Regions from separate parts of the Homo sapiens genome. Here all the other regions are linked to region 3. Evidence: promoter capture Hi-C in 16 types of primary human blood cells and fetal thymus (Javierre and others, 2016). All regions are on one chromosome and are shown on one strand. Each heading gives the region's core, a stretch centred on a gene start or on the middle of the fragment in contact. The rest is flanking DNA. Distances are from core to core; before and after follow the strand shown. Region 1 has its middle 2.0 kb from the start of MAN1A1. Region 2 has its middle 1.6 kb from the start of TRE-CTC1-7. Region 3 holds the start of SERINC1 (serine incorporator 1). Region 4 holds the start of GOPC (golgi associated PDZ and coiled-coil motif containing). Region 5 overlaps FAM184A (family with sequence similarity 184 member A).

Region 1 (3,174 bases), core at 531-3,030, 3.1 Mb after region 3:
ACAAAACCATATCTTTCAACAGGAGCCTGCAGGAACAGAGGGCTCCTGCCCTCACTGCCCCTGGCACCCACGCCCCCTCAAAAAAATGTGATTGGAATTCTATAAAAATAATCTGCCACTCAGGCAGTTCCAAAGTAAATTGAGGAAGAGCAAAAACATGGAATCAGAAATATAACAGTAGACTCCAATTTGCATACAAATAACACCGATAGTTTCCTTTAAAACTCTGGTTAATTTCCACCTTAATATATCTCATGTAAAATTGAGAGTGCCCATTGAAGTATTGAAACTTCAAGATTAATATTCACAATGAATCATTTTTTACGTATTACATTTGGATTTTTTAAAAAATAAGAGCAAAGACCTATTGTGACCTAGAAAATCTCCCATTAAAAGATTTTATCAGAAATCTAACTTGTTGGAGAATTTCAGTCATTATTTACTGTACATGTAGATTAAATTCATTTCTTTCACTAGATTAAGTTTTATTTAAAGTAAGAGAACAAAAATCCTCAAAAGGATTCTTCCACAAACTTCTAACTAGTACTGCCTAGAAACTTCCTAAGAAATGTTTTTGCACTTCAATTTTTGAGAACTTATAATTTTATAAAAATATAAATTTATCAGTTTTATAAAAATATTGCCAATTTTTCCTCTGTAAGTCTGCTCATAATTATTACTATATTTCATTTTAGGCATGTTAATGTAAAAATTAAATCTACCTTTTGGTAATTTCTTTTGAAAGTAGAAAAATCTAAGCAACAACATTTATTTGGGGATTTCTTTGTAGTGTTTTGTGGTATCACTGATGATCAGGTTTTTAAAAAATTACTTGATTCAAAGATATAATCTTGAAACACAAAAATTTACAAATTATCAAAGAAATACACAAAAACATTAAGTATTGAAAAAGGAAAATGTAAGAATTAAGTTTGCAAGCAAACCTGCAAAAATTACAAGAGAGTTATACTTCAAAAGGACTGGCTGGCCAAATAAAAAAACATAGCAAGTATTTTTTTAAAAATCCCACAAAATTACTAAGGTTCTTAGGTTTACATTAGACCATCCATAATGAGAAACAGCAATTTCAGCACTATCATTGCATTCATAAAGATGGTGACATTACCTTCAGGTAGATGTGGCTAGGGAGTCTTGACTTAGGGGACAAAGTCAAGGTTTCATTACTTAAAAGACAAGAACCAATCACCTTTATTTTTATCTCAGGGTACAAAGTACTTTTTTCAATGGTAGAATGTCAAGTGCTTTGTAGTACTGAAATCAGAGGAAAGTGTCCGATTTTGCTTCTACAAAATGCACAATTTTACTTGTTGACTATTTTCTACTCCTCCCTTACCATGAGCACACAGGGCTTCATGTGATTATTTTAAAGAGGATGCATAATTCGATTGCTATGCCTCTTCAGATACCTTCTTTGTGAATTTTTCAAATTTGCTCTGGCCCAAATATTGGTGTTCCTATATAGTTCTTATCCCACCTAATGTACACAGACACCCTTTAATATGTACCTATAATCAACCACCCATGTTAACTTCTTGTTTAACATATTATCAAAGCCAGGCTGCAAGTATAACCCTGTCATTTAAGAAATACGGAAAATAAGAAAAAAATCTTAAAATAAGCTTCATGATGAACTTAAAAAGAATAGTTACTTTAAAAGATGTAGAAACAACATAGATAAATTTAAAGTTTTTAGGGGAAAAAATCCTTAAACCCACGTACTAAATTTTTAATATTTCCACTACAGAAGTTAAATGCCCAAACTGATTTGGTATCAAAATTAAAGTGTCAGAAATAGAATTAAGTTATAACTTTTATTTATCACCATTTTAACATATACTTAAAAGTGGAATTTATTGTTTTGCTGGAATACTTAATAACATTAATTTGAAATAAAGCTTCTAAATATTTCCGGGGCTATAATTCCATTCTTACAACATAATTTTTAAAATAATAAATCATTCCAAAAAAGGATGATCATAAAGAGATTAGCGTTTGGGGTAGTTAACCCAGTTCCTATTTATCTATCCATTCAAGAGGTAACTCAGTTTTAAGGATGTTGTTAGAAACATTATTTCACAGTGATTCAAACCTTTCAGCCTATGCACAACCTACAAATGCATAATCGTTTGAAATAAAAATTGCCTTTCCATCATTAAAGAAAAATCATCTTTGTTTTCTTTTTCAGTCCTTCTGAACTTATTACCCTGCTTGGATATGCTGCACTCTTCTGGACATAGAATTTCATAGCAGGTATCAAAATAACCAAGCCATAAAGCCAGCTTTATCAAACAATAATTTCCTATTAACAAGAACTTTGAGTGTATTACTCATTTTACACAAAACAAGTAGACGACAAATAATGATGGTTAAAATTAATAATTAAATGATTAAATGAAAACTAGTAAGGATTTCTGATTACTTTTCTACTTTCTCATACAGCTTAACACCTGGAAACAACTGTACTGGAGCCACCTTCCCGAAAGGTGCCAGCTGTTTCCTTTGTCTTAAGCACAAACAGAACTAATGTCACATTTCCAGAGAAGGGTAAGGATGAAATAAGGCGACTACAAACCAGCTTTCAGAAATGCGAAGTCAGTCAACGTTTTCCTCTCTGATAACCCCTTATTTGTGGAGCAACAGGAGAATTACAACACATTTTGGAAAATAATTTCTATTGGACCAACTCCTCACTTCGCTGGAAGTAGTCGGATCCAAGACTTAATTTCAACACAGTGTTCGACTTATTGCTTGAAGCTACCGCAGCATAAAACTCGTCTTCGAATGGAAAATTTGACCAACTTCTATGAGGTAAATGAATAGTGAAAGTACGGGTGGGCGGGAGAGACATACAAGTTTTTTCGGTTTTTTGTTTTTTGGGGGAAGAAAGGGCGCATACGAAAAAAGTCCTAAGCAAGCACAGAACTGTGTCTCTTAGGATGTAAAAGGATGTTATACCAGAGAGCTCAAAAGCTCCCAGGGTCACGGCTCCCCTAACCGAGGGACTTGGGGTTTCACTGCTACCAGGCACCCGGGGAACCCCGGCCTTGGATAAAAAGAGGGTAACTGGAGTAAAGCCGTGCTTCTGAACGACCCAGCGCCCAGGACCCCCTGCCAGACCCCGCCTTTCCCGGGACCCCCTCGGGAGCGCCCCCG
Region 2 (3,035 bases), core at 48-2,547, 3.3 Mb before region 3:
AGTCAAGAGTTTTGTGTAGTTTTCACTTGCTGGTTGGGTTTTTTTTTCATAGTTTTTTTTTTTCTTTATAGTTTTTTTTTTCTTTTTAAATCATAAGTTTTATGTACTTTTCATTCGCTTGTTGGGGTTTTTTAATCATTAAAAATTGACCGTTTTAAAAGTTTATTTAATCTAAGGCTTAAAATACGCCATCTCTATTTACAGGTAATGTAATTTATAATCAATCAAATAACATAAAGTTCTGTGATTCTAAAATTGTATTTTTCAGTTTTTAAAAATAATTTGGATGTGTTTACAAGCAGTCAGTTAAGCCTTTGTTTAACCTTGATTTTGTTTGACTAATAAAAGAGGAAGATAGTTTTATGAGGAATAATACTTATTCAGTATCATGCTTAGAGTTAATTTTTAGTTTTTCTGTACATTAAGATTATGTACTTTGGAGATTATTTGCCTATATTGGAGCTATTCCTACTCTCATCTCTATAAATATGAGATCTTTTCTGAGATGTATGGTTGGACATAGCTAGTTTATTGTGTTTTAATAACCCATTTAGTTAATGTTTTTTTGGCTAACTTTAAATTTTCTCTAAGAGATTTACACAAATATGGTAAATGTGTTACATCCAGAGTATCAATTCCCACTATATAAACCATATAGGCCCCTCAAAAATGCACCTACTTATCATTAGTAATTCCCACATTCAGGGTAAAGTAGAATTCTGGGAGTTCCTCAAAGGAAAATATGGCAATGTTGGAGTCAAAAAAAGAAAAATAGTGTTATATAGACATTAAGGGTTTTTTTGATCCTGAAAGTTCTAAACCATCCTAACCTTTGCCACTTACTGAGCTGTTGGATTTTTTTTTTTTTTTTTTTAATTTGAGACGGAGTCTCTCTCTGTCGCCCAGGCTGGAGTGCAGTGGCGCGATCTTGGCTCACTGCAAGCTCCGCCTCCCGGGTTCATGCCATTCTCATGCCTCAGCCTCCCGAGTAGCTGGGACTACAGGCGCCCGCCACCAGGCCCGGCTATTTTTTTTTTGTATTTTTTGTAGAGACGGGGCTTCACCGTGTTAGCCAGGATGATCTCGATCTCCTGACCTCGTGATCCTCCTGTCTTGGCCTCCCAAAGTGCTGGGATTACAGGCGTGAGCCACCGCGCCCGGCCCCGCCTTTTTTTTTTAAGGAGAAATTTCATCATAGCATAGAAACAGACTGAAAGCTTGATTGCAACTAAAATGAGTTTGTTTTGCTCTCCTTTTAGCTGTGCTGAGACTGATTGGGAAGAGGAGAATGCTGAGTACTTAATGTTCCAGGAAGTCCATTGTGATAGGTGCCATGGGGTTAAGAAAAGATGTGATTTTTGGTGCTTAAGAAGCTTTCACTTCATTGGATAATTAAGACAAAAATATGTTGCCACCATTAACAAAAATAATTGGCACCATTCATTGATTATTTGCTGCATATCAAGTACTTCAAATAATCACGATATATGGTAAAAGAAGGGAGAAGGAAGTGAGCACTAGAATCAAAATAGAGCTTGAAAACTGTTTTTCAAGCTGGACCTAAAGGCTAGAAGTATCCGGAATGCCTGAGAAAAGGAGAATGGACATTGCTTCTAAGGGATCCAGGATGACCATGGTCTAGTATTTGCAACGAAAAGGACTAACTGTGTCAGACTGGCTGTAGTAGGGAACCTGCGCTGGGGAACAGTGGAGATGAGGGCAGATAGGTGACTGCAGCTAGATTATGGAAGACCTTAAGACAAGTCAAGAAATTACGAAGGGAACCCAAGAGGACTCGATGTCTGATAGGATATAAAGGGTTAAGAATAGGGAGGAATCAGTTATGAATCCTTGATTTGTTCTGTGTGGCTAGTAAAACTGGGGTGGCATTAAAAGTAATAGGAAGGTTGAGATGGAGAAACTGATGAAGAAGAGAAGGTAAGTTCAGTTTGAGCCCCACAGAGGCAGCACAACTAAATGTGGTTGGAAATACAGAATGGGAATTTTGGTGATAATTAGGGTAGAAGGGAGAGATTTTGGAGCCATTAACTTAAAAGTTTGAGAAGATTTGAGCTCTTCCCAAAGAAAAAACCTATAAAAAGGAGAGAGGACCAAGGAAAAAACCCAGGAGAGTATACATTAAAGAAGAAGGGGAAGAGGTAGAAAATGGTGAAAGAGTAGTCAGAGAGGGGCCGGGCGCGGTGGCTCACGCCTGTAATCCCAGCACTTTGGGAGGCCGAAACGGGAGGATCATGAGGTCAGGAGATCGAGACCATCCTGGCTAACACGGTGAAACCCCGTCTCTACTAAAAAAAATACATAGCCCTTGTGGTGGTGGGCGCCTGTAGTCCCAGCTACTTGGGAGGCTGAGGCAGGATAATGGCGTGAACGTGGGAGGCGGAGCTTGCAGTGAGCCAAGAAGATCGCACCACTGACCTCCAGCCTGGGCGACAGAGAGACTCTGTCTCAAAAAAAAAAAAAAAAAAAAAAAAAAGGAAGAGTAGTCAGAGAGGTAGTAATAAAAGGATAAGAGAGCTTCAAGAAGGAAGTAGCGGTGAAGAAAAGAGCATACTGTAAAGAGATCAAGGAGAAAACGGAGGAGATTAAGCACAGTCAGATGGTAAGACAGTGACTGTTGGGTACAGAACAGACTGGTGGAGCCCATACCACAGTAAGGAAGTCTATCCAGGAGATCATTGCCAGAAACATGATTCAAGGTGTTGAGGGACTAATGTGAGAGACAACAACCTTATTTATGACCTACACGCTGCAGAAGGGCGAATATAGCGAAGAAAAAGAGATCTTATGAAAATAAGATCTGTTATTCCAGAGCCAGAGACTGTGAATTAACCCTGACTGTGCCAATATCAGCTGCATTATCTGGGTTAAGTGACCCAGCTCTCTGAGCCTCTGGATCCTAAGGAGTACAAGAGAGACACTAACTTGCATGCATCCGTGCATACTTCACAGAGTTATTGTCATTCATTCATCAATTTAGCAAACACTTATGTAATTCTTACTCCATGCCAGTCATC
Region 3 (3,034 bases), core at 518-3,017:
ATGTTGTATATATAATAACTTAAGTGAGCAAATTCCACTCCACATAGCCTACAGGTTAAATAAAAGTAAATTTTTTTTAATGTATTTCAAGGCCAAGTGTTACATTCCAGAAAGATTAATATGACTTTTGTATTTAACTCTGAATATCTCAGGTGAAAAAACTCTATTGAATAGTGCAAGAACTTATGAATATCTCAGAAACCCTCTTAAATGGAGCAAGAGACAAGAATCTGTGCAAATTTAAATTTTAAGAGACCCATTCTCCATTTGGCTAATAAACATATTCTTTACGACCTTAAAGTTACTCACATATAAGTGTTTTTTGTCTCCTTCTCTGGTACTTTGAAAAGTTTAAGGACTTGAGATACTAGGATTCTCTTCTCCCATAAATAACGTATTAAGTTTAGCATAATTAAAAATATTGTTAGGTTTGTAATTTCCATTTCCACTATTCTTTTTTTTTGAGACGGAGTCTCGCTCTGCAGCCCAGGCTGGAGTGCAGTGGCCCAATCTCGGCTCACTGCAACCTCTGCCTCCCGGGTTCAAGCAGTTCTCCTGCCTCGCCTCCCGAGTAGCTGGGATTACATGCGCGTGCCACCATGCCCGGCTAATTTTTTGTATTTTTAGTAGAGATGGGGTTTCACCATGCTGGCCAGGCTGGTCTTGAACTCCTGGCCTTGTGACCCGCCTGCCTCAGCCTCCCAAAGTTCTGGGATTACAAGCATTTCCACAATTCTTTAAACCTTATGGATGCTCTATTATAATACTTTGCTTTAAGAGTGGTCTACAAAACCACAGATAAGGCAAAGAAGAATAAAGCAAGATTGTCCCTTAGTGGTTACAATAACTAGGAGTAGGGATTCTGACATTCTTCCAGATTCTTAGGTGTTTACCCCACCTCGACCCATGCAATTTTTGTAGATTTTACAACACTTTCTTATTATTAGTTATGGGAATGACTATTTCAAGTTTGAGCTGTTTCCCAGAATATTTTCAAGAACAAATAACTCTAAAAAAATAACTGGAACTTTTATAGGAATGCATTCCCTGCAGATGTGCATCATCACCTAATATGCAAGGGTTCCACATGCCTCAACAGCTCATGACATTCGAAATCAATGTTTGAGTTTGATAATGTCTTATCTAACTAATTAAAAATAATTTTAACGTGCAAATTTCTTGTAACATCTTAATAGCATAAGAAATTAAAATATAAGTCAATAGCAAACAGAAATGATACAGAGAAACTGAAGCACACAGATGAATATAAATATCCCAATAAAACTTGTTCCGGGCAGCGGGCTGCAGGAATACGTTGCAAACGCAAGAGCAAAACAGGATGCAAACGTGGGAAAAATGGGAAATAAGTGGAGTTAGGACGGACAAAGACTGAGAAAGAGGAAGCAATCCCCTAAAAAGCAGAGAGGTTCCTCAGATGAAGGAGGGCAAAACGTCAACCACCACCTCAGCTCTGTTCTCTACTAATGCCCAAATGCAAGTGCATGGTAGGTAAAGGTGGGTTTTGCTCACACCGTTTTCTTAATTTGGCAAACTACGGTCAGATCCACATTAGCCGTTAAGTTTCCAGCCAGCAGTCCTTGAGAAATTCTCCAGGAAAGAAGACAGCCGTGTCGTCTAGTGACGCGCATGCGCAGTCTCAGCGCTGCGCGCTCCGTGTTTTATCCTACCCAGGCCTGGAAGGAAGTGACGCGAGGCTGAGGGGCGGGTTGCGCTGTGCGTCCGGAAGTGTCTCGCAGATAGTAAATAATCTCGGAAAGGCGAGAAAGAAGCTGTCTCCATCTTGTCTGTATCCGCTGCTCTTGTGACGTTGTGGAGATGGGGAGCGTCCTGGGGCTGTGCTCCATGGCGAGCTGGGTAAGGTGCTTTTTGCGGCCTCTGGGGTGCTAGTGTGAGAGACCAAAGAGAAGGCGATCCGAGCCGGGGCTGGGTGAGCCCGGCGGGAATGTGGTGCCCCACCCAACAGGGAGTGCCCTCTCTGTCCCCGTTTTCTTCCCGTCTCCTCTCGTCACTCAGACTCAGCTTCAGAGCTTTGGGTCTTGCGAAGAACTGATCACTGGCCGTAAGGTTTAGTGGCGATGGGAAGATGACTCAAATTGAGGAAGAGAACTAGAATAGGGCCCCTCCCCCACCCCTGCTTCGTGAACGCTGTCTCCCATTCTTTGAGGTCCCTTTTCGTGGTTTTGTTTGTATCTGCGCAGGCCATCTCTACAAAGGTCTTTGCCCCTTTCCTTCGGTGGGGTACCCACTCTGTTGTCATCTCTTTCCTGGCGACCTCAGACTGCCGCACTGTCGTTCCTGGATTCATGTCGCCCTCTTTGTTCAGTGGCGCAGATTATGATTAAAAAGTGCCTGTCGTCATTTGGAACCGCCTGGCAGTAATGCTAATGTAGTAATATTGTTTTTGAAACAAATAGTCATAGCTCTGCCGTAACTGTTTGAAGTGTCAATTTCAGATTTCAACTTAAAATTGAAATTTCAGATGACACACGCATGCCTTGTGCCTAATGACAATTTTGTCTTTAGGCACAAAACATGCGTGTGTCATCTGAAATTTCATGCTTAATTAGCTGTACATTGCATTTTCATTAAAGAGTTGTTAGAGTAAAACTATTTTCAGTATAGTGGCAAGACTTTGGTCCGTGTGGCACAAATTTCAGTTTATTTAAGATAATCTCTGCCCCCTCCAAAATAGTAGGCAAAACATTGGCAGTGCAGTTAATAAAGATATTTGTAATTTTAGGCGAGGTATTTGGACTCAAATCACTTTTCTTTAGTCTGGAATTTGTTAATTCTGTTTCTAACAATTGCTTTTCTGACTTCCCAAATGATTCCGTTATATATACTCTTAAAGGTTTTGATATGTCTTGAACTAAAAATGTTGAATTTTAATCAAATAATAATGTGGGGATTGTTACTCCAGCCAGTCTGTTCTTTTGATTATATGGTATTTCTTCTTGCACGGAAGCCTGGAATATTTTATCTCAAGATATTAGAGAGTTTAATTATTGACTTT
Region 4 (3,404 bases), core at 103-2,602, 4.9 Mb after region 3:
TGAACTGGAAGTAGGCAGAATGTAAAGAGAGGAGTTGCTGGATACTTTTAAAGGCACTGAAAAATTCAAGTTAAAGTTATAGTTGAGGGGTAGTAGCCTCACTAGCCTATCTTGAGTAAGGGTCATGTCTCATTCATTTTTGTGTCTTCAATGTCGCAACAGAGCTCTGCATTCAATATATTTGTAAATATATGAATTCACAATTTTGATTTTCTGAAATGTCACGTGTGAGGACACTACCAGTTTTCAAATAAATACACCTTTTAAAGTACAGTTATGTGCCAAATAACAAGGCTTCAGCAATGAATGGATCGCATAAACTATGGTGATCCTATAAGAGTATATGACTGTACCTTTTCTATGTTTAGATATGTTTAAGTACACAAATAGTTACCACTGTGTTATAATCGCCTACCGTATCCAGAATGGCAACATGCTGTACAGGTTTACAGCCTAAGAGCAATAGGCTACATCATATAGCCTGGGTGTGTAGTAGGCTATACTATCTAGGTTTGTGTTTAAATACACTCTAGGATGTTCCCTAAGGGATGATTAACCTAAGGACACATTCCTAAGAACATATCCCCATCTTAAGTGAAGCACTACTGTAGTTGCTTTTGAAATGTGTGACCTATGGTGTATTAAGAGGAATACCGTGTGCCAAGAAGTGACGCTAAGCGTTTTACCTTACAACTGAGTTAAGTAAAATTTGGAAACTTGGTTTCGAGGTTAATACATGAAAGGCGACACAGGTAGTATGTGACAGAGGGTAAGAATTGAATCCAGGTCTACCTGACTCTTAATCACAAGACAAAAAGTCTTCTATTAATTCCGCAAAATCTGGTCAGCCGCTTCAATGCGCAGCTTTAGGCAGTCCACACCTGGAATTTGGGGTCTGGTTTACCAAGAACAGCCAGTGTGTACACCCACTCCATCCTATCCAGGAACTGGAATCGAGAAGGTAAAAACGTGGCTATTGCGCATGCTCACACCGCCCTTCCTTGCTCTCCCCTCCCTGACCCTAGATGCCACCGCAGCAACTTTCTGGGAGGATTTTGGAACGGCTCCCGCCAACTGTTAAGTCAAACCGGCGGAAATCCTTCCTTTCTGCGACGTGGACACCTTTCTCATCCTCGGGCCTTTCCAACCAGGGTGCAGAAACCACGCGCCTCCGTTTCTCAGGGATTCAAGCCGTAGTTTGCCAGTTGTTAATATGGCCGCTGACAGGCCGCTCCCAAGCTGAGGCCTTTCATAGGCCAAGATCGCATCCTGTCCCCGCCTATTTTGTCCCTCGTGGCTGCGTCCGCCCAGCTCTTCGCTACGCATGCGCAGCGGGGGCAGGCTGGGAGGTGGGACTGACTGAGTCTTCCGTGTGTCGCCGCCGTTGCCGCCTCAGCTTCAGCCTCGTTACTCCTGCGGTTCTGTGACTGTGCTGCTGGCGTTAACGGCGCGAGGTGAAGGGAGGTGACGGAGTGTGCCCGCGCGCGCGGGGGTCCCCTCAGTCCCAGCAGTTCCCTTCGTGCGCGGGGGGCGGCGAGGGTCTTCAGCAGTCGGGAGAGGCCCTTGACGGCGCCATGTCGGCGGGCGGTCCATGCCCAGCAGCAGCCGGAGGGGGCCCAGGGGGCGCCTCCTGCTCCGTGGGGGCCCCTGGCGGGGTATCCATGTTCCGGTGGCTGGAGGTGCTGGAGAAGGAGTTCGACAAAGCTTTTGTGGATGTGGATCTGCTCCTGGGAGAGATCGATCCAGACCAAGCGGACATCACTTATGAGGGGCGACAGAAGATGACCAGCCTGAGCTCCTGCTTTGCACAGCTTTGCCACAAAGCCCAGTCTGTGTCTCAAATCAACCACAAGCTGGAGGTGAGCCGTGGGTGCTGGCGGCTATGGCATCCAACCCCAGGCTGCCCGGTGGCGTCAGATGCCATTTAACGCTCCAGTGAAACGACCCTAGAAAACTGCCCACCGGGGCTTCAAATGTGATGGGAGAGTGCATGTCTGAGGAGTGAGGTGAGGGTGGGGGACAAAAAGGGCCCTAGACCGACGTGTGAGTTCCCGGGGTACTGTCGTCCACCTTCCTAGTATCTCTCTGAGGAGGAAACTAATTACATACACCAGCCTCCATTGCACATGTTACATTAACAAACCTAACAAAGATTCTCTGTCATGAAAATACCGTAGGCCACCTTTTGACAACTGAGTTTTGCAGATCTGCTTTCACATTGATAAACCGAATTTGTATATGTTAAGACAGATACAGCACTGATTATTTTCATTTTAATTATTCCAGGTCAGCGCCTATGATTGCATACAGAGACATGCATAAACTATTTAGGGGAATCTGATCAAAGCTCTTAGGAAAATTTCGTGGTGCATAACGATAGTATCACTGTCTCGGTTTACATCCATAGTTGGTTGTTAAATTACAGGCAGATACCTCCAGAGAGCTCCCTGCAATTATTGAAATTACTTCTGACCTTGAGTTTTTATATGCTTGTACATTACTGTGTAATTTTCCAAAGTCTGGATTTATTTTTGAGAGAGTGTAAAGAATCATTTGCTTTAATCTCTGATCCTGGGTGTGGGTGAGGGTGGAGTGGCTGTGGTTCAAAAAAACAAAAATATCATATTGTGCAGAAAATTTAAAAAGGACATTATTAAAATATTTAGAAATCAAGATAGATTAACATTATTGCATAAAGAGTACTTTCTAACTAGGCAATTTAAGAGAATGGGTCTTTCTTTTCAAAAAGTGTAATAGATAAAAATGGGATAATCAGTGATGTGCAAAACTCTGAACATGCTTTCCTAAGAAATCATCATTACTCGTTGTCATTGACAGTGCCCATTATATCTATATCAATATGAATGTCAGTTAAACATCCTCTCCTTGCCTAGTGGTCAGCATTCTTTCTCTCCTATTAGCCATGAAATATGTGGCATAATTAATCTTTGATTAACATAGATTTACATATCCAAGAATTGTGGCTCTTCTCCACTGCGAGAACTGTTAATTTCTTCTATCCTTTTTGAAAAGATTAGAAAGTGCTAATATGAAGGTAATCACTTCTTACTGTAGGTAAATGAAAACATCTCTTGATTTCTTTATTGGTAGTAATTTCCACAAGAAAGCTATTTTTCTCAGATAGTGAAATTGCATTTAATGTTTTCTAGAAATAGTACTTTAACTTTATTTCATCTTATTTTATCTTATTATATTTTTTTCAAAAAAGAGATGGAGTGCTTTGTTGCCCAGTTTGGTCTTGAATTCCTGGCCTCAGGTGATCCTCCTGCCTTGGCCTCCCAAAGTGCTTTGATTACAGACATGAGCTACTGTGCCTGGCCATTAGTTCTCTAGCTTTAAACAACAAAGATCAAGAGTAGCCTTTACCACATGGTATAATTCGA
Region 5 (3,259 bases), core at 483-2,982, 3.4 Mb after region 3:
TTTACTAAGATGAGGCCTGAGAATGAAACAGTTTGATAATAGGACTCTGTTGGAGCCAACATCTTTCTGTTTCTACAAACATATAAGACTTGCTTTCTTTATACACCATTTTGAAAGTTGTCAAATTTTATAGTCATATACACTTATTGTAAATACTATACCATAAGCATGACATCATGAGTGTATATAAACATAGAGAGAGAGGGACTGTTATGAACTTTACTACTGCCTGCCATATAGAATTTTTACTCATGAAGAGTTTATTCATATTAGCAGAGGTGTGTTCCAACTATGGTTGGAACTTGACAATGGCTAATATTTCATAATTGTACACTGTAAATGTAACAATTAAAATTGGATTTTATTTCTTTTGGAAAGAAGTCAGTAGAACTCAACTCTTCAGCATTATAGCAGCAGCACACTTAAGAGCAGTGTGGGAACCTGACACACTGAGTTAAAATTCTCACTCCACCACTTACTACTATTGTGACCTTGAGCAAGCCATGAAACACTGAGCCTCAGTTTCCTCATCTTTAAAATAGGGATGATAGTACCTATTTTACAGAGTTGTAGCGGCACATAGTAGGCTCTTCATTCAGGCTGTCACTCACTGAAAAGACATATACCAATATGAGTATTAATAAAATATGGATATTTTAAAAATGCTTCTCTCCTTTTAAACCATTCTGCATTTAACAGCGTTGTGTGATAGTGTACTTATTTTGAGGGTTTTCTGCTAAACTCTTTAAAAATGTATATATAGTAGTTTTTTTTCTCCTTCGAATATCAAAGTTTAAAGGTTTCACATTTATTCTGCATTGTGGTAGAATGTTCTGAAAATACATTGTGCATGTTTCAAAGGTTTGGCTGGCTATGAAAGGATAAGCATGAAAAGTAATAAAGATTATAATTTTGCCCATAGCAAAGCTCAATATATTTTTAATTAAAAAGCAGTCTTTGCTGTATGCATATTTGTTCATATCCTATTTCCTAAGAGCCTAACATAGCTGCCTTCTCATGGTAAGGAGAACACCAGTTCTTTAAGCACCTTTTATGTAAGGGAGACTTTGGAAAATGTTACAGATACAGCAGGGAGCAAGACACAGTCCCTGCCTTTTAAAGGAAGTCTAGCATATTTGGGTCACTCGTGTCAAGTTTTAAGAATTAATATTAGATTCTTGAGCTACATTATGGCAAGTTTCTGCAAATGTTAATGGCTGAACTATCTCAAGATAGGCAGTGAAGCTGGATGGATTCAATTATGTTTTATAAGACCACATTTGTATACTTCTGTGCTCTCCACTGTGTTGACTTTTCAGGATATCAGGTTGAAAAGCAGGCCTTGTGGGATGTAATTATAAAAGCTTTTTTTTTGTCACTTTCAAATTACTTTTTTTCCCTTTTTGTCTCTTTCAATTTACTCTTTGAGACTGGTTCATCCTCTTTCATGGGTTAACTTAATTTTTCTGGTTGCTTTTAGATAATACAAATCATCCTTCAGTAACAAAGTCACAAAAGTCTCAATTTGATTATTAAAATTAAAATGCCCAGTACCAACAAGTAAAAACTGCAGACCAAGCCTGAAATAAAGATGAAGCTTCTCCCTTAACTGGTCTCTTGCTCTGTCTCTTGCAAGGGGGAAACCAGTAACTAGGGAAGGGGGTATTATTGCCTTTTTACTTCTTACCTGGTTTTTCTACTCTTCCTGCTTTGTCTTGCCAGTTCTGGTTTCTCACCCTTCCAAAGTTGGTCAAGGAAGAAGTGAAAAGAGTAAAGAGGAGCAGCAAACTTTTACTTGATTAGTGAAGAAGCTAGCTGGTGATCTAGTTTCAGTGCTTTTGTAGCCGTTGCAGATGTTTAAAGCTTATTCTTTCACTGGTGAATCTTCTACCTCCCACCTCAGTGGCTCTAGATTTTCACCTCAATTCCTTGACAGTGAGAATTCCCTTATGCGCTGATTGGTTGCTTACTCCTTCCTCAGCCTCTTGGAGCTAGCAGTACCTTCACCTCCACTTTGCTGAGGTCTGTGCAAACTCTAGATACCCCTCTTGCATGGACTTGTGTGATCCCACCCCAGGTTGTTCACTCTTCCGTAGAGGCCACATAGGGAGCACTCATTCTTTGCACAAACTCTGCTAGTGGTCCCAGTTCAGCCCTCTCTCTTGTTCTCACATGCCTCTTCATGCAGCTTCTCATCATTTAGATTTTCTGGGGATTAATCAGGTACCAGGTTAGCATGTTCTTCAAAGTGCTTGAGGCACATGTCAAGTTCTTCAAGTCATTCCCTCAAAGCCTTTTTCCCTAGGCTTTAGGTGTGGGACAAGCATCTTCCACCCTTCCCCCTTGAAGACACAGGCCCCTGTTACCACAGCTCTCCCCAGGGAAATCTCTGAAACCTACTCTGTAATCTTCTTGAAGCACCACCTCACTAGTGGTGGGGGTGGAAAGTAACACATCTCAGCACTCTTCTTTAGACTGCCTCTTGACATTTTCGAGAATGTTCTGGCAGCTGCTTTGGAATGTCATTTCTATCGTCTCTGGTTCTCAGCAGAAACTTCCCTTTTAATACCTTGTTATGTTAGCTGCTTATCAAATCCCTCTTTAGTTGATTGCACTTTTGATACAGAGTCTGTTTATCACTTAACTAGTATAGACATAAGTAATATATGGTACAGTGTAAGTTCCCAAACAGCAGGAAGTAGTTTATTTTGTGTTTTCTGTGCTTAGCATCAAGTCCTCTTATTTAATACCCAGCTTATGGCTCTTCTACTAAAACTGTCCTGACCAGCTACCCTTGTTGGGCTTTCCTTGCTGTGCGTTAGCATTGATTGTTGGTACCTCTTACTTGATACTTAATAATGCAAACTTGCAAATACTGTTTATTGTGTTTATAAATATACTTTGTTTTCATAATTTGACTGTAAGGTTCTCAGCTCTAGGGACTGTATCTTTTATTACATGTAACCTTAATATGAATGGTTTGCACATAGTACCAAAGCTTAATAAGTATTTACTGAAGAAGATGGTGGTCATAATGATACAGCAAGTAATTTTGTTATACAGCAGAGAAAGACAGTACTTTTTAGGAATTGTATCTGCTACTCTTCTGGGTTAATGATAGATCATTTCAGCTGAGTTAAATTATTCCTAAATATGTAAATGTTTATTGACTGCCCTTTAAACTGCTTCAAAAAGCTATTTTATTTCTTAATGTATTTTTGATGTAAAAAATACAAATATAATGTTCTTTGTCTACATT

What was found. The method cuts DNA at HindIII sites, captures the fragments that hold promoters and counts their contacts. A CHiCAGO score of 5 or more calls a contact.
Region 1: a contact is called between a fragment that was not itself captured here and the fragment with the promoter of SERINC1 in region 3, in 3 of 17 cell types (non-activated CD4 T cells, fetal thymus and total B cells). The highest score is 11.9, in non-activated CD4 T cells.
Region 2: a contact is called between a fragment that was not itself captured here and the fragment with the promoter of SERINC1 in region 3, in 1 of 17 cell types (total CD4 T cells). The highest score is 6.9, in total CD4 T cells.
Region 4: a contact is called between the fragment with the promoter of GOPC here and the fragment with the promoter of SERINC1 in region 3, in 2 of 17 cell types (non-activated CD4 T cells and total CD4 T cells). The highest score is 6.7, in non-activated CD4 T cells.
Region 5: a fragment that was not itself captured here is called in contact with the fragment with the promoter of SERINC1 in region 3 in 1 of 17 cell types (activated CD4 T cells); the score reaches 5.8 in activated CD4 T cells.

The regions. Positions count from the first base shown.
Region 1 is chr6:119,350,182-119,353,355 of GRCh38, reverse strand. It overlaps a transcript of MAN1A1 not described here. Among named protein-coding and RNA genes, the nearest start is that of MAN1A1, 2.0 kb to the right of the region's middle. RefSeq lists a silencer at 3,035-3,174. The HindIII fragment of the contact is 276 bases long and covers 1,643-1,918 here.
Region 2 is chr6:125,777,170-125,780,204 of GRCh38, reverse strand. No RefSeq gene overlaps it. Among named protein-coding and RNA genes, the nearest start is that of TRE-CTC1-7, 1.6 kb to the left of the region's middle. RefSeq lists a silencer at 1-36. The HindIII fragment of the contact is 156 bases long and covers 1,220-1,375 here.
Region 3 is chr6:122,470,540-122,473,573 of GRCh38, reverse strand. It overlaps SERINC1 (serine incorporator 1), which reads left to right and starts at 1,767. Exons shown (of 10, transcript NM_020755.4): 1 at 1,767-1,875. The coding sequence starts at 1,837. It also overlaps a transcript of PKIB not described here. RefSeq lists enhancers at 1,608-1,667, 1,718-2,117. The HindIII fragment of the contact is 8,379 bases long and covers 1-3,034 here.
Region 4 is chr6:117,600,459-117,603,862 of GRCh38, reverse strand. It overlaps GOPC (golgi associated PDZ and coiled-coil motif containing), which reads left to right and starts at 1,352. Exons shown (of 9, transcript NM_020399.4): 1 at 1,352-1,859. The coding sequence starts at 1,575. It also overlaps the pseudogene NEPNP. RefSeq lists enhancers at 961-1,250, 1,381-1,470. The HindIII fragment of the contact is 3,398 bases long and covers 1-1,706 here.
Region 5 is chr6:119,072,719-119,075,977 of GRCh38, reverse strand. The region is part of intron 1 of FAM184A (family with sequence similarity 184 member A); the gene reads left to right. Among named protein-coding and RNA genes, the nearest start is that of FAM184A, 4.3 kb to the left of the region's middle. The HindIII fragment of the contact is 266 bases long and covers 1,600-1,865 here.